2 separate regions of the Homo sapiens genome follow, and region 1 is linked to region 2. Evidence: promoter capture Hi-C in human tissues and cell types (Jung and others, 2019). All regions are on one chromosome and are shown on one strand. Each heading gives the region's core, a stretch centred on a gene start or on the middle of the fragment in contact. The rest is flanking DNA. Distances are from core to core; before and after follow the strand shown.

Evidence for each region. The method cuts DNA at HindIII sites, captures the fragments that hold promoters and counts their contacts. A contact is called where the count stands out against the background at its distance.
Region 1: a contact is called between a fragment that was not itself captured here and the fragment with the promoter of WDR4 in region 2, in 1 of the 25 tissues and cell types used here (spleen).

The regions. Positions count from the first base shown.
Region 1 is chr21:42,237,678-42,244,769 of GRCh38, reverse strand. The region is part of intron 2 of ABCG1 (ATP binding cassette subfamily G member 1); the gene reads right to left. Among named protein-coding and RNA genes, the nearest start is that of ABCG1, 22 kb to the right of the region's middle. The HindIII fragment of the contact is 3,059 bases long and covers 136-3,194 here.
Region 2 is chr21:42,874,088-42,880,989 of GRCh38, reverse strand. It overlaps WDR4 (WDR4 tRNA N7-guanosine methyltransferase non-catalytic subunit), which reads left to right and starts at 1,451. Exons shown (of 11, transcript NM_018669.6): 1 at 1,451-1,583; 2 at 4,223-4,288. The coding sequence starts at 1,495. It overlaps LOC105372817 (a long non-coding RNA gene), which reads right to left and starts at 1,278. Exons shown (of 4, transcript XR_937765.3): 1 at 1,235-1,278. RefSeq lists enhancers at 1,199-1,548, 1,619-1,728, 1,759-1,808, 1,461-2,425, 2,426-3,389. The HindIII fragment of the contact is 11,595 bases long and covers 1-5,787 here.

The DNA.
Region 1 (7,092 bases), core at 416-2,915, 640 kb after region 2:
GTGGCTTGGAAATGGATGTCATGTAAACAGCCCTGTCCTTGAGTGTCAGTGGCAAGAAGGTTTCACACCTCCCAGCTCATTCTCAGACGACCACTGCCATGTGCCTGTTCCAGGTATAATTTTTAAAATTCACTAATTGTGATCCTTGCAACTCAAAATCTGCCGTGATTTTAGATGAGGAAAAGCTCAATTTCTTCACCAAAAAAAAGAGTGGGAATTGCAAAGTAAGACAAGACTGTAAATTAGACTTTAGGAAATGCAGTGCAGAAGAGAAGCTTTTGAAGTCTTTTAGCTTTATCAATTTATTGGCAAGGCAATGGCTGTGTTAACTGTGTTTCTAATCTGGTCCTGAGAGCTGGCACAGAGGACGGTGGAAATGGCCGACCTTCTTCTGTTAGGATCGAGTGTTACTAAATACTGAGAGAAGGGCTCAGGCAGGCTCTTGTCAGAACCTTGCACTGGGAGGGGACGAAGGAAGTTCAGGGTCTGGATGCCCTCCTGAATCCCTGTGAGCTCCCATGTCCACTCCTAGGATGCCCTCTCCACCCCCAGCTAACCTCATGTTCCAGCCTCTGCAAATAATTTTATCACTTACAGTGATGTTTTAGCAAGAAAAGAGCAATTTAAAACATTTTTTTAAAGCCAAAGATAGGCCGGGCGTGGGGGCTCACGCCTGTAATCCCAGCACTTTGGGAGGCCGAGATGGGCGGATCACGAGGTCAGGAGATTGAGACCATCCTGGTTAACATGGTGAAACCCCGTCTTTACTAAAAAATACAAAAAATTAGCCGGGCGTGGTGGCGGGCGCCTGTAGTCCCAGCTATTCGGGAGGCTGAGGCAGGAGAATGGCGTGAACCCGGGAGGCGGAGCTTGCAGTGAGCCGAGATCGCACCACTGCACTCCAGCCTGGGCGACAGAGTGAGACTCCGTCTCAAAAAAAAAAAAAAAAAAAAAAGCCAAAGATAAAGAGGGCTTACAGAAGAGGAAAGAAAATTACTAGTTTAGATAGAAACTGCACTTCTCTTTGCTTCTCTCCACCACCGCTGTCTGGACAGGGCGCCGGGAATCCTGCAAAAACCTCTCCACTCTCACGCCAATCCTCTGTTGCAGCCCCTCAGCAACTACTGTCTTTCCAGATTTTACAGAGGAACTGGCTGGGGGATAAATCAGATGATGATGGAGATCATGACAATCTTACTGCAGCTTGAACAGGTTTTACAAATAAGCAGAAAGGAACCTAATCTTCTTTATCCCGCCCAGGTGATATTATAAACCAGCGCACACACACACACACACACACACACACACACACACACACACACGCGCACACACACGGTATTAAAATATGGTTCTGTGAAACAGATTAAGATAAAAATAAAATCTGCTCTCTCTTAAATAATAATATAAATTGCTGAATCCAGGCACTTCTGCCCTGTTCCCTGGCGTGCAGCAGTCCACCACCCCCGAGGAAGGTACCCTGGAGGACATGAGCTTTAACTCTCCTCCCTGCAGAGGGAGGGGCCGACGGGCTCCCCACATTCATAGTGCGACTCGTGAGACACCACCTGGCCCTGCTGTCTGCATCTCTGACCACCCAGGTTCACAAGGAAAGCTGACTTTGAAGGCCAGGGAGTGGTGAGATGCTGAGGCTGCCTGACCATGGGAGAGCAGGGCCCTCACTCCTGCCTGTGGTGCAAGTGTGGGTGATGCCACCTCCTGCTCCAGTTTTCCCAGGGCTCAGGGTGGCTCCCACATGGCCATCAACTCCTCTTTACTCTAATTCAGCAGTTCTCAAAGTGGGATCCCTGGACCAGCAACAGCAGCATCGCCCCATACTTATCAGACACGGAACCCTGCCTGCCCCAAACCTGCTCACTCAGACCCCCGGGGGTGCAGCCCAGCCACCTGCATTTTCACAAGCCCTCAGGGCCATGGTGGAGCTCGCTTGATTGCCTCATTGCACTTCAGCCTCTGAAGTCACAAAAACCAAAAAACACAACAAACAACGATATGGTTCACTGCCCCGGTTCATGGTCGGCTCTAAAGGACTGGGATGTGGAAAGTGTGAAATAACACAAGAGCCGGAACAGAATGAATGTGCCCTAATGGCCAGCGTTCTCCAGCAGCCAAGTCACCCAGCCACCTCTCATCATGCTCCTTCCGCCCTCCTCAGCGTCACCACTTGGTTCCAGGTACCACACATCTATAATACAGCTCCCTCCTCCTCTCTCATTGTGCAGTTTGAGTTTTTGTGTTGTTTTGTTTTTAGGGACAGGGTCTCTGCTGTCACCCAGGCTGGAGTATGCAGCAGTGCTATCATAGCTTACTGCAGCCTTGAACTCCTAGCCTCAAGCAACCCTCCCCGCTCAGCCTCCTCAGTAGCTGGGACTACAGGTGCACACTACTATGCTCTGCTCATCTTATTTTCTGTAGAGACAGCGTCTCGCTATGTTGCTGAGGCTGGCCTTGGACTCCTGGGCACAAGCAGTCCTCCTGCCTTGGCCTCCCAAAGCACTGGGGTTATAGGCCTGAGCCACTGTGCCAGGCCCATTGTATAGTCTTTTTAAAAAGCCAATATTTCCTAAAGGAAACTCAGAAAATCAAAATACAGTAGTAAGAACTGCATGTGCTTTGTAACTTTGCTTAAAATAAAATGTACTGGAGTCTACTTTGTGGCTGGCCCCATATACTTTAGAAAGGGATTTCACTGTTTTGTGCTTTCAATGGCAGGCATATTTGTAAAACAAGTAACCAAAAACACCATGGGGAGTTCTTTTTTTTTTTTTTTTTTTGAGACAGGGTCTTGCTCTGTTGTCCAGGCTGGAGTGCAGTGGTGTGATAATGACTCACTGCAGCCTCAACCTCCTGGCCTCAAGTGATCCTCCCACCTCAGCCTCCCAAGTAACTGGGGCCACAGGCATGCCCCATGCCTGGCTTTTTTTTTTTTTTAATAGAGATAGGGTCTCTGATGCCCAGGCTGGTCTCGACCTCCTGCTCTCAAGCAATCCTCCCACCTCAGCCCCACAAGGTGCTGGAATTACAGGTGTGAGCTACTGCACCCAGCAGGGCATTTTTAATGCAAGAGAATCCCTTAGGAAACAGTATAAAATTATAAACACCTTAGGGATTTTGGGTTTTGTTTTTTTTTTGTTATTTTTTTTTTTTGAGACAGGGTCTCACTCTGTCACTCAGGCTGGAGTGCAGTGGTGCGATCTCAGCTCACTGCAACCTCTGCCTCTCGGGTTCAAGTGATTCTTGTGCCTCGGCCTCCTGAGTAGCTGGGACTACAGGCGTGTACCATCATGCCCAGCTAATTTTTGTATTTTTAGTAGAGATGGGGTTTCACCATGTTGGCCAGGCTAGTCTCAAACTCCTGACCTCAAGTAATTCACCCGCCTCAGCCTCCCAAAGTGCTGGGATTACTGCCCTGTGGATTTTTTAACTCCTCACAGAAACACACTCTGATGAATTTCCCCGTTTCTGTTTATGATGAGCTCACGGATGTTGTGGGGAGAAAAGCATCTCCACTGTGCACTTGGCTTTTACGATAAATGGATGCTGAAAGCTGGTGGCCCAGCCAGGGTCACCTCCGTCAGAATCCTGACAGGCAGTCACGTCTGAACGTGGCCAGTGCTCTCACTACGTGTCTGTGAAAGTCAGAAGGATAAGAGTCCCAGAGACCAACATGCTATTCACCAGGACTGTTGACTGTCAGCCCAGAGTGTCCATTCCAGATCCCAAGCCTCCTGGATTCCTTCAGAGGGTCTGCCCATGCCCTGAATTCCCTCCTAACTCCCCACCTGTGCCCTCGGTCCCCTGGGTGGTGCGGGAACGCACATCTGGTGGGTGTGAGCAAGCGTGGCCCGTGCTGGTCACGCTGTTTACTCTCCCTGAAGATGGACAGTAGGGCTTAATCTGGTCCAGGTCATGAGACCTGGCTGGCAGCCTCCACCATTAGACAACTCCCAAGCTCATCAGACTTTTCAATGATGCGGCTTCATTCTCATTAAAATTAACTTTCTGGCTGGGTGCGGTGGCTCACGCCTGTAATCCCAGCATTTTGGGAGGCCAAGGCGGGTGGATCACCTGAGGTCAGCAGTTCGAGACCGGCCTGGCCAACATGGCGAAACCCCATCTCTACTAAAAACACAAAAATTAGCCGGGTGTGATGGGCGCCTGTAATCCCAGCTACGTGGGAGGCTGAGGCAGAAGAATCACTTGAATCTGTGAGGCGGAGGTTGCAGTGAGCTGAGATTGCGCTACTGCACTCCAGACTGGGTGACAAAGCGAGACTCCATCTCAAAGAAAACACAAACCAAACAACTTTTTAAGCCATAAGTGTGAAGGCAGTAAACATTTTAATGTTTCAAGTTCACTGAAAAGGGCCATGGCCCTAGGCAGTCACTGGCTGTTTCATATGATCTCAAAGAGCAAACAGGAGGAGCCAGGGGTCAACTGGGCTAGGCTTGGTCCTGGGGTCCACCTGTTGGCAGCAGGAACTTGAACTCATCGCCCACCTGTCTCCAGGCCACAGTTTCCTCACTGATAACATGGAAGCAGTGCCTCGTGTGGCCGTTGGAGACCCAGCGTGGCAGGCACCGTGGTCTGGCATAACACTGTGTGACCTGCAGGCTACAGCCGCCCTCATCCTGCCACCTGCCCTCCTCTCCTGCCTGTCCCAAGATGAGCACACACAGCGTTCTCCAGTGCCCTGCAGAAGGCACCATGGGCTCCCACAACCACGGCCCAGGGGATGAAATGACACCATGCTCCCTTTCTGGGGCTCTAATTTGAGTGGTGAGATACTGGAAGCCTGGCAATCACCAGACACCCAAAAATGACCAAAGGGGAACCTTCCGGAGCTTAGGCCCCTTGCCCAGCTAGCTGATTCTGCAGAGGCCACGTGACAAAGGCTCATCACCCAAGTGATGTGAGCATCTACGACACAGAGCAGATGAGCAGTAGCCATCGTATTAGCCAGGGGCCAGGCCCCGGACGGTCTTCTGCCCCAACCGGAAGCTGGCTCTAGGAGCATGGGTCACCAAAGACACACAAAGGTAAGATGTAGCCCAGCCAGGGGACCAGTGTGGGGCTCTGGAAGCAGCTACCTGGGTCACCTCTTGGCTCTGCTACTTACAGCCCTGTGACCCCGGACCAGGCCCCTACACCTCCCCTTGCCCCTCCACTCTCAAAGGGCAGCAATGAGGCTCATGGGAGCACATAGGTGTGAGGCTCTGAGCACACTGCCCGGCGCCTAGGAAACACTAAATCAACAGTGGCCACCAACTATACCCTTGCTCTTTCCCTTTCATTTCTAAAGCCTAAGGTATCAAGCCACACTTCACATTTAGAATGAGAACTAAAAGGCTTTGATCCATCTTAGTGATTCTAAGCTATTATGATTTTATTACATCACATATAAGAAGGGTAGCCATGGTTTATTAAGTGCCACAAGCTGGTCACAGTGCTTCACAGGTATCAAGCTATTTGATCTAATAAGATGGATATTTTTATTATTAATATTTCCTTTTCACAGGAGGGGTAAGTCACCCAGTTGCCCTGCTAGTAGGCGGTGGAGCCAATTCTGAACCCAGACTCTCTTACTGTGGAGCCCACATTCCTGAGCTCTATCCTATACTGCCTCCTCCTTTACTGAGGGCATTTTGCTAACAAGTACTACACCTGGAATCATTTTTTTGAAAGAAATAGCGGGAGAAAGAAAATTTTAACTAAGCTCCACATATAGTTCAATTCATCTTAACCTCCTTGTTACATATTAATTTAGAATTACCACAAAGGAGAGTAAGTGCATTTTCTATAAAGCTACAACATTAATGGATTTACATTAAATATTTGCAAATCCAAGAACAATGTTCACGACCTGCCAATAGGTGTGAGACTGTGGCTCCCACCAACCCCAGAGCTGCTGCCACCTCTCCCTGCCACGAGCTGCCAACCAGAGCAGTGGGCACAACATCCTCAATTTTCAGTCATGACCATCTAGCCACAAGACTAAAACACGCAGGAGCTGATAACATCTCACATCCTCCTAAGATAACCTGCATCAACCTCGCCCGTGAGCCAAATTCTGAAGTGTAATGTTGCTTGCCAAGCTTTGTTTGAATGGTGGAAATTTCCATCCAGTAACTCACAAATGTAGATACTGAAATATAAATAGTTCAAAGATGCAAAGCTTGTCATCCAGCGATCTGAAAGTACTTGAGAGATCTCTCAGAAATAATAAGACTGTTACCTGTCTTGTACACGCAAGTACACAAGTCTCAAGATAGAGGGATTTAACGCGTCTGAAATTAGTCATAATATGAGCCATGAGGAAGAAACCAGAAGTCTCAGAAAAGGAACCATACAAAGATTCTCTTGGAGGACAACTCCAGGGAGCATGTAGCCTGTCTTGGGGGAAAGCACAGAGCTCAGAGTGTTGAGATTCGAAATCCCCATTTTGTGTAAGAGATGGCACTCTCTGTGATGCCCAAGCAAAGGCCCTCACTGCTTCCGGCCACAGCATCTTCCTCCCTCAAAAAGAATGGGTAGAAAACCTGACCGCAGGGTTGCTGTGAAGACAGAGTAAGTTACTGCTCACAGACTAATAAATACCAAGCTAATACTATTATTATTAGAAAGAGGAGTATTTGCCTTCATGAAACCAGGAACACGAAAATCAATTTTTAGCAAAATTTGACCTGTAACATTAAAATACCTTGAGCACTATTGTGTGCCAGCCCTGGCTGTAGTGATGACCTCTGCTATTCCTCACTCCAATCCTGAGTTTGGCACTTGGATCAGCCCTGTTCTGCAGATGCAAAAACTGAGGCCCAGGGTCACATGGTTAAGAAGAGGTGGAGCTGGCATTCAAGAGTAGGCTGCTTGACCCAGAATCCAGGCTCTTACCATTCCCCAGCCACCCCTCTGTCCATCCACGGTGCTGTGCGGCCAAAGAAACAGCCCTCAGAAACCACCTGCGTGAAGCTTAGTCAGAGGTGGCTCATGGGTTTGACACAGCAAGGGAAGATCAAAACAGCCCAGCATCTCAAGGCTCTTGGTTTTCCTCTCTACTTCTCCTCTCTACCAAGC
Region 2 (6,902 bases), core at 202-2,701:
AGGTTGCACTTCAGCCTGGGCGACAGAGCGAGACTCCGTCTAAAAAAAAAAAAAAGACTAGTGGGAGTGGCTTCTTGGGCATGGAGAGCACCTGAATCAGATTCTTGAGAAGCCCATAAAGCTTTTAAGGGACTTGTAGTGAACAAAGCACCACCAGCTGCCAAAATGTGGACAGAACAGTTTAGAGTGAAAAAAGGTCTGTGGGCTCACAATTTGCTAATGACAGGAAGGAGGTTGAGAAAGTTTCTCAAAGGGCACATTCTTCAACATGGCCAAGAAGGTGCTGGAAAAGGAGGGACACCCAAGAGGGCAGAGGCAAGAGCTGTGCTGAGATACAGCCTGGGGAGATACTCCCAGGAAGCAGAACTCGGGCCTGGTTAAGACTTCTTATTCTTGTAGGGCCTGAAAACATCTTCCAGTAGGATTTCAGAATTGCTTTGGACCAGTGATTACTGTGTCTCCTCCTCTTCTCATTTTCACATGCAAGTATTTATTGTGGTTATCTGGTCCCGGCTCACCATCATATATTGCGTGCACGGGAGAGAAAATTAATCTTTTTAGTTTGTAAGTCTCTGGATCAAGAGGAGCTGCACCGGACAAGCCAATCTAAAACAGACCGTGAGATCCTAGATTTTGTGCCTGATGCTGGGATTGTAAGAGGCTTTTGGGGATCTTGGGATGAACACTGGAAACTAACCATAGTTTGGGTTGAAAATATCACTACAGTTCGGAGATTTTAAGGCATCTGTGGCTTGTCTAAGTGCAAAGATTCAGTAGGCTTACTTCTAGCGACCTCAGACTTGACGCCACCCGAGACACCCTCACCCATGACCACATCTTGGACATTTTTTTTTTTTTTGAGAGAGAGTCTCGCTCTGTCGCCCTGGCTGGAGTGCAGCGGGGGCGATCTCGACTCACTGCAACCTCCGCCTCCCGGGTTCAGGCAATTCTTCTGTCTCAGCCTCCCAAGTAGTTGGGGCTACAGTCGCACGCCACCACGCCCAACAAATTTTTGTACTTTTAGTAGAAACGGGGTTTCACCATATTGGTCAGGCTGCTCTCGAACTGCTGACTTCATGTGAGCCACGGCCCCCGGTTCATTCACTTCTTGAAGGATCATTTACCAGGCATCTAGTAGCCATCATCAGGTCCTACGTCTCTCCAGCTACCGCGGAAAAAGATCCAGAACCAGCCCTACCCCGTCTAGAGGAAAGGATGAACATTAGGCAAGTACTTGGAATCGTGCGAAGTGCACTCCATCAGATCACCTTGGTGAGTGAACTGCCAAACCCGAAACACCGAAGGCCACCAGCCACAACCCGGAGGGCGGTCACAGCACCTTTCACGCATGCTCAAGGCAGGCTCGTCCTTGAGCATGCGCGGTACGTGGGGTATACGTCATCTCTCGGCGTCTGCGCCTGGCGTCACCGACCGGTGCGGACAGGAAGAGGCTCTGGGCTGGCACATGTGTATGGCGGTGAGGCGGGCGGGTACATGGCGGGCTCTGTGGGACTGGCGTTGTGCGGGCAGACGTTGGTGGTGCGGGGCGGCAGCCGATTCCTGGCCACCTCCATAGCAAGCAGGTGAGGGGGCCTTGGTCTTGGAACAGGGAGACCAGGCTGCGGGCGCGCGTCGGGTCCTGGCGACCCCGCTTCTCCCGCACCGCCTGGTCGCACCCACTCTGGGGTGACCCCGGGGAACTCCGCTCCAGCCCACGAGTCCTCCGCCGCAGTCTCGGCCTGGCCGCGTCTCTGCGCCTGGAGGGTCCGCTTTCGCCGTCCGCTCTCGGCGTCCGCTCCCCGGCTCCGGCGCGCTCCTTGCACTAGATGGCTGGTCTGCGGTGTTCTTGCCCGGTTAGCGCCGCCGGGTCGCTTCCGGTCTCCGCGGCGCCGGCGGGGACCGGGTAGGTAGAGCACGTGGGGCGACGCTGACCAGTCAGCAAGGCCCGGCCGAACACGCTCTGCAGAACTGGGAAGAAGCGGGTCTCGGGTCTCCCTGGTGAGAAGGGAGGGGCTTACTCACTGCGAGCTCACTGACCTCCAAGCGCGCTCCCTCTTTTTGCAGGGTTGTCTGTTCCCTCTTCCCGGCCTGCATCCACTCACCTGGCCTTAATTGCTCCTTAGGGCTCCAAGTCATCTCCGACACTTACCCAACCCAAGGGTGCACGTGGAGCTCGCAGTGCGCACCTCCCTAGTGGCCCTTCGCACGGCTCGGGTTTTGCTTTCCGTAATTTTATTCTCCTTCCTTAGTGTATCGCCAGTGCTAGGACGACGCAGGGGATTTTTAACTTAGTAAATGTTTGTTGATGGAACAGTCCTAACTCAGGACTCTCGGAGCAATTAGTAGTGCTGTCAGTTTCAGCCCCTCGTTTCCTTTCCCAGGTTATTTGTGATTTCATATTTGAAACGGACGACGTGTCTGTCAGATATACTGTATATTTTTTGTTCGTTTGGTTTTAGAAAGCCAATTCGATGTTAAGTTAGGTCTCACAAAAATTGTACTCAGAAACCCGTCACATATCCCAGATGATTTTGTTTTAGAGACTCACGGTCTAATATCTGCCAGAGTGAGCTGTGGATATATTAGACATGATTTGCTTACCTTCAGTCTTTGCATTTTGAGGAAATTCTAGTGGCTGGTGGAGTTTCTGACTTGGAAGACAAGTCCACGGTTCCATATGGAAAGTTTTTTGGTGCACTCGCTTTAAAGGCTATAAATATGTACAAGATACGTGCCAGGGGGTGAGGATGGGATAAACCGAAGTTTAGGTTCAGTATGGAAAATGGGTGATTCTTATGTTGGTAAGTGCCTGGGGTCATGGGAACACTTTCAGGTAGGTGAGATATGTTTCTAAATAGTAATGGCTCTTTGAAATTTGTATACAGAATCCCACTGAACGCTCAACAGTATCAGAACATAATTTCTTTTTTTTCTTTTTTTTTTTTTTTGAGGAGTCTCGCTTTGTCGCCCAGGCTGGAGTGCAGTGGCGCGATCTTGGCTCACTGCAAGCTCCGCCTCCCGGGTTCACGCCATTCTCCTGCCTCAGCCTCCCGAGTAGTTGGGACTGCAGGCGCCTGCCACCATGCCTGGCTAATTTTTTATATTTTTAGTGGAGATGGGGGTTTCACTGTGTTAGCCAGGCTGGTCTCGATCTCCTGACCTCGTGATCCGCCCATCTCGGCCTCCCAAAGTGCTGGGATTACAGGCGTGAACCACCGCGCCCGGCCCGTAATTTCTTATAACCATGTCGCATAGATTTTGTGGTGCCTAAAAGAATAGCATATTAATTCCTGTTGAGTATTTATCCCTCATTTGTTTTACTGAACTTTTTTTTCCCACAGAACTATGCAGTATGACGTACTCCAATAAGAGATTAAGCAAATAAAGTTTGTTAACTGTTCCCTGAAATATTGTATCTAGACAGTTTTCTTGTCAAGTATACAACTTTTAATTTAATGAGTGTGCAAATATTTTTTGTTCCACAGAGAAAAAAAATCAACTTTTTTTTTTTTTTTTTAACAAAGTGCTCTTTTAAAAATCATTGTTAGGCTGGGCGCAGTGGCTCTGCCTATAATCTCAGCACTTTGGGAGGCTGAGGCGGGCAGATCATCTGAGGTCAGGAGCTTGAGACCAGCCTGGCCAACATGGCGAAACCCCGTCTCTACCAAAACTACAAAAATTAGCCAGGCGTGGTGGCAGATACCTGTAATTCCAGCTACCGGGAAGGCTGAGGCGGGAGAATTGCTTGAATCCAGGAGGGGGAGGTTGCAGTGACCTGAGATCATGCCCTTGCACTCCAGCCTGAGTGATAGAGCGAGACTCCAACTCAAAAAAAAAAAAAAAAAAAAAAATTAGGGCCAGGCGCAGTGGCTCACATGGGCCAGGCGCAGTGGCTCACACCTGTGAGCACTTTGGGAGGCTGAGGTTGGTGGATCACCTGAGGTTGGGGATTTGAGATCACCCTGATCAACATGGAGAAACCCCGTTTCTACAAAAAGTAAAAATTAGCTGGGAGTGCTGGTGCATGCCTGTAATCTCAGCTACTGGGGAGGCTGAGGCAGGAGAATCGTTTGAACCTGGGAGGCGGAGGTTGCGGTGAGCCAAGATCGTGCCATTGTACTGGAGCCTGGACAACGAGAGCGAAACTCCGTCTCAAAAAAAAAAAATTTGTTATTTCTCTCTAATGATAACTCCTTTTAAAATTATTGTTATTTCTCTTTAGTGATGATGACAGCCTCTTCATCTATGACTGCAGTGCTGCAGAAAAGAAGTCACAAGAAAATAAAGGGTGAGATGTGGGGAAGCTTTTTCAGGGCCTGCTTTAATGGTTCGATAATGGGACCAGAGGGTCTAAGAAGCAATTGTTGTCCTACTTGCTGAATTCTTAGCTTCTGTCACACAGTGGTGCAGATAAGTAGCACCTCAGGAGAGACATGTAAAAGTAACTTTTAGGTTAGGCATTAAGAGTACATTGTTGGCTGAGCACGGTGGCTTATGCCTGTAATCCCAGCACTTTGGGAGGCCAAGGTGGGTGGATCACCTGAGGTCAGAATTTCCAGACCATCCTGGCCAACATGGCGAAACCCTGTCTCTACTAAAAATAAAAAAGTTAGCTGGGCGTGGTGGCAGGCACCTGTAATCCCGTCTACTTGGGAGGCTGAGGCACAAGAATCACTTGAACCTGGGAGGCGGAGGTTGCAGAGAGCTGAGATTGCGGCATTGCACTCCAGCCTGGGGAATAGAGCAAGACTCTGTCTCCCAAAAAAAAAAAGAGTACAGTGTTAGTGCCGGGTGCGGTGGCTCATGCCTATAATCTCAGCACTTTGGGAAGCCAGGGTGCTGACTGAGGTCAGAAGTTCAAAGCCAGCCTTGCCAATGTGATGAAACTCCATCTCTACTAAAAATAGCCAGGCATGCTGGTGGGCGCCTGTAGTCCCAGCTACTTGGGAGGCTGAGGTGGGAGAATCACTTGAACCTAGGAGGCGGAGGTTGCAGTCGGCCGAGGTTGCGCCACCGCACTCTCCAACCTGGGTGACACAGCAAGACTCCGTCTCAAAAAAAAAAAAAAAAAAAGCACAGTGTTAGGACTTTTCTAAATACTTTTAGTTTCTGTCAGTAATCACATCTTACTGGCTCCTTGAAGTAATGGTTGAAGGCGGGTGTAGGAAGTTAACTTCAGCTAATTGAGATATAAAAGTAGAGCATGTGAGTGTTTCGTATGGTGGCTTTCTTTAGTTATCATTGGTATTGTGGCTCAGTTTGTTTTATCGTTATTATTATTTTTTGAGACAGGGTCTCTCTGTTACCCCGGTTGGAGTGCAGTTGCACAAACATAACTCCCTGCAGCCTCGACCTCCTGGGTTCAGGTGATCTCCCGCCTCATCCCCCTAAGTACCTGGGACTACAGGCACATGCCAACATACCTAATTTTTTTTTGAGATGGAGTCTTGCCCTGTTGCCAGGCTGGAGTGCAGTGGCGCTATCTTGGCTCACTGCAACCTCCACCTCCCTGGTTTAAGTGGTTCTCCTGACTCAGCCTCCTGAGTAGCTGGGACTACAGGCACGCACCACCATGCCCGGCTAATTTTTTTTTTGTATTTTTAGTAGAGACGAGGTTTTACCATGTTGGCCAGGATGGTCTCGATCTCCTGACCTCGTGATCCACCTGCCTTGGCCTCCCAAAGTGCTGGGATTACAGGTGTGAGGCACCGCGCCAGGGCTGCCTAATTTTTGTAGTTTTTTGTAGAGACGTGGTTTCGCCATGTTACCCAGGCTGGTCTTGAACTCCTGAGCTCAAGCGATCCTCTCGCCTTGTCCTCCCAAAGTATTGGGGGAAATTCAGCCAGATATTGGGCAAAATTCACCCCCGATATTTCACGTAGGTTCTTTTCAATTTTCCCTAAGCGTCGGCCGGTTTGAGAAATAAAGGGACAGAGTACAAAAGAGAGAAATTTTAAAGCTGGGCGTCCGGGGGAGACATCACATGTCGGTAGGTTCCGTGATGCCTCCTGAGCCGTAAAACCAGCAAGTTTTTATTAGGGATTTTCAGAAGGGGAGGGAGTGTACGAATAGGTGTGGGTCACAGAGATCACATGCTTCACAAGGTAATAGAATATCACGAGGCAAATGGAGGCAGGGCGAGATCGCAGGACCACAGGACCGGGGCAAAATTAAAATTGCTAATAAGTTTCGGGCACCACTGTCATTGATAACATCTTATCAGGAGACAGGGTTTGAGAGTAACCGGTCTGACCAAAATTTATTAGGCGGGAATCTCCTCATCCTAGTAAGCCTGGGAGCGCTATGGGAGACTGGGGCTTATTTCATCCCTACAGTCTCGACCAGAAGATGGCCACACCCAAGGGGGCCATTTCAGAGGCCCACCCTCAGGGGCGCATTCTCTTTCTCAGGGATGTTCCTTGCTGAGAAAAAGAATTCAGCTATATATCTCCCATTTGCTTTTGAAGGAAGAGAAATATGGCTCTGTTCCGCCTGGCTCACCAGCGGTCAGAGTTTAAGGTTATCTCTCTTGTTCCCTGAACATTGCTGTTATCCTGTTCTTTTTCAAGGTGCCCAGATTTCATATTGTTCAAACACACATGCTCTACAATTTGTGCAGTCAACGCAATTATCACAGGGTCCCGAGGTGACATACATCCTCCTCGGCTGACAGGATTAAGAGATTAAAGTAAAGACAGGCATAGGAAATCACAAGGGTATTGACTGGGGAAGTGATAAGTGTCTATGAAATCTTCACAATTTATGTTTAGGGATTGCAGTAAAGACAGGCATAAGAAATTATAAAAGTATTAATTTGGGGAACTAATAAATGTCCATGAAATCTTCACAATCCACATTCTTCTGCCATGGCTTCAGCTGGTCCCTCCGTTTGGGGTCCCTGA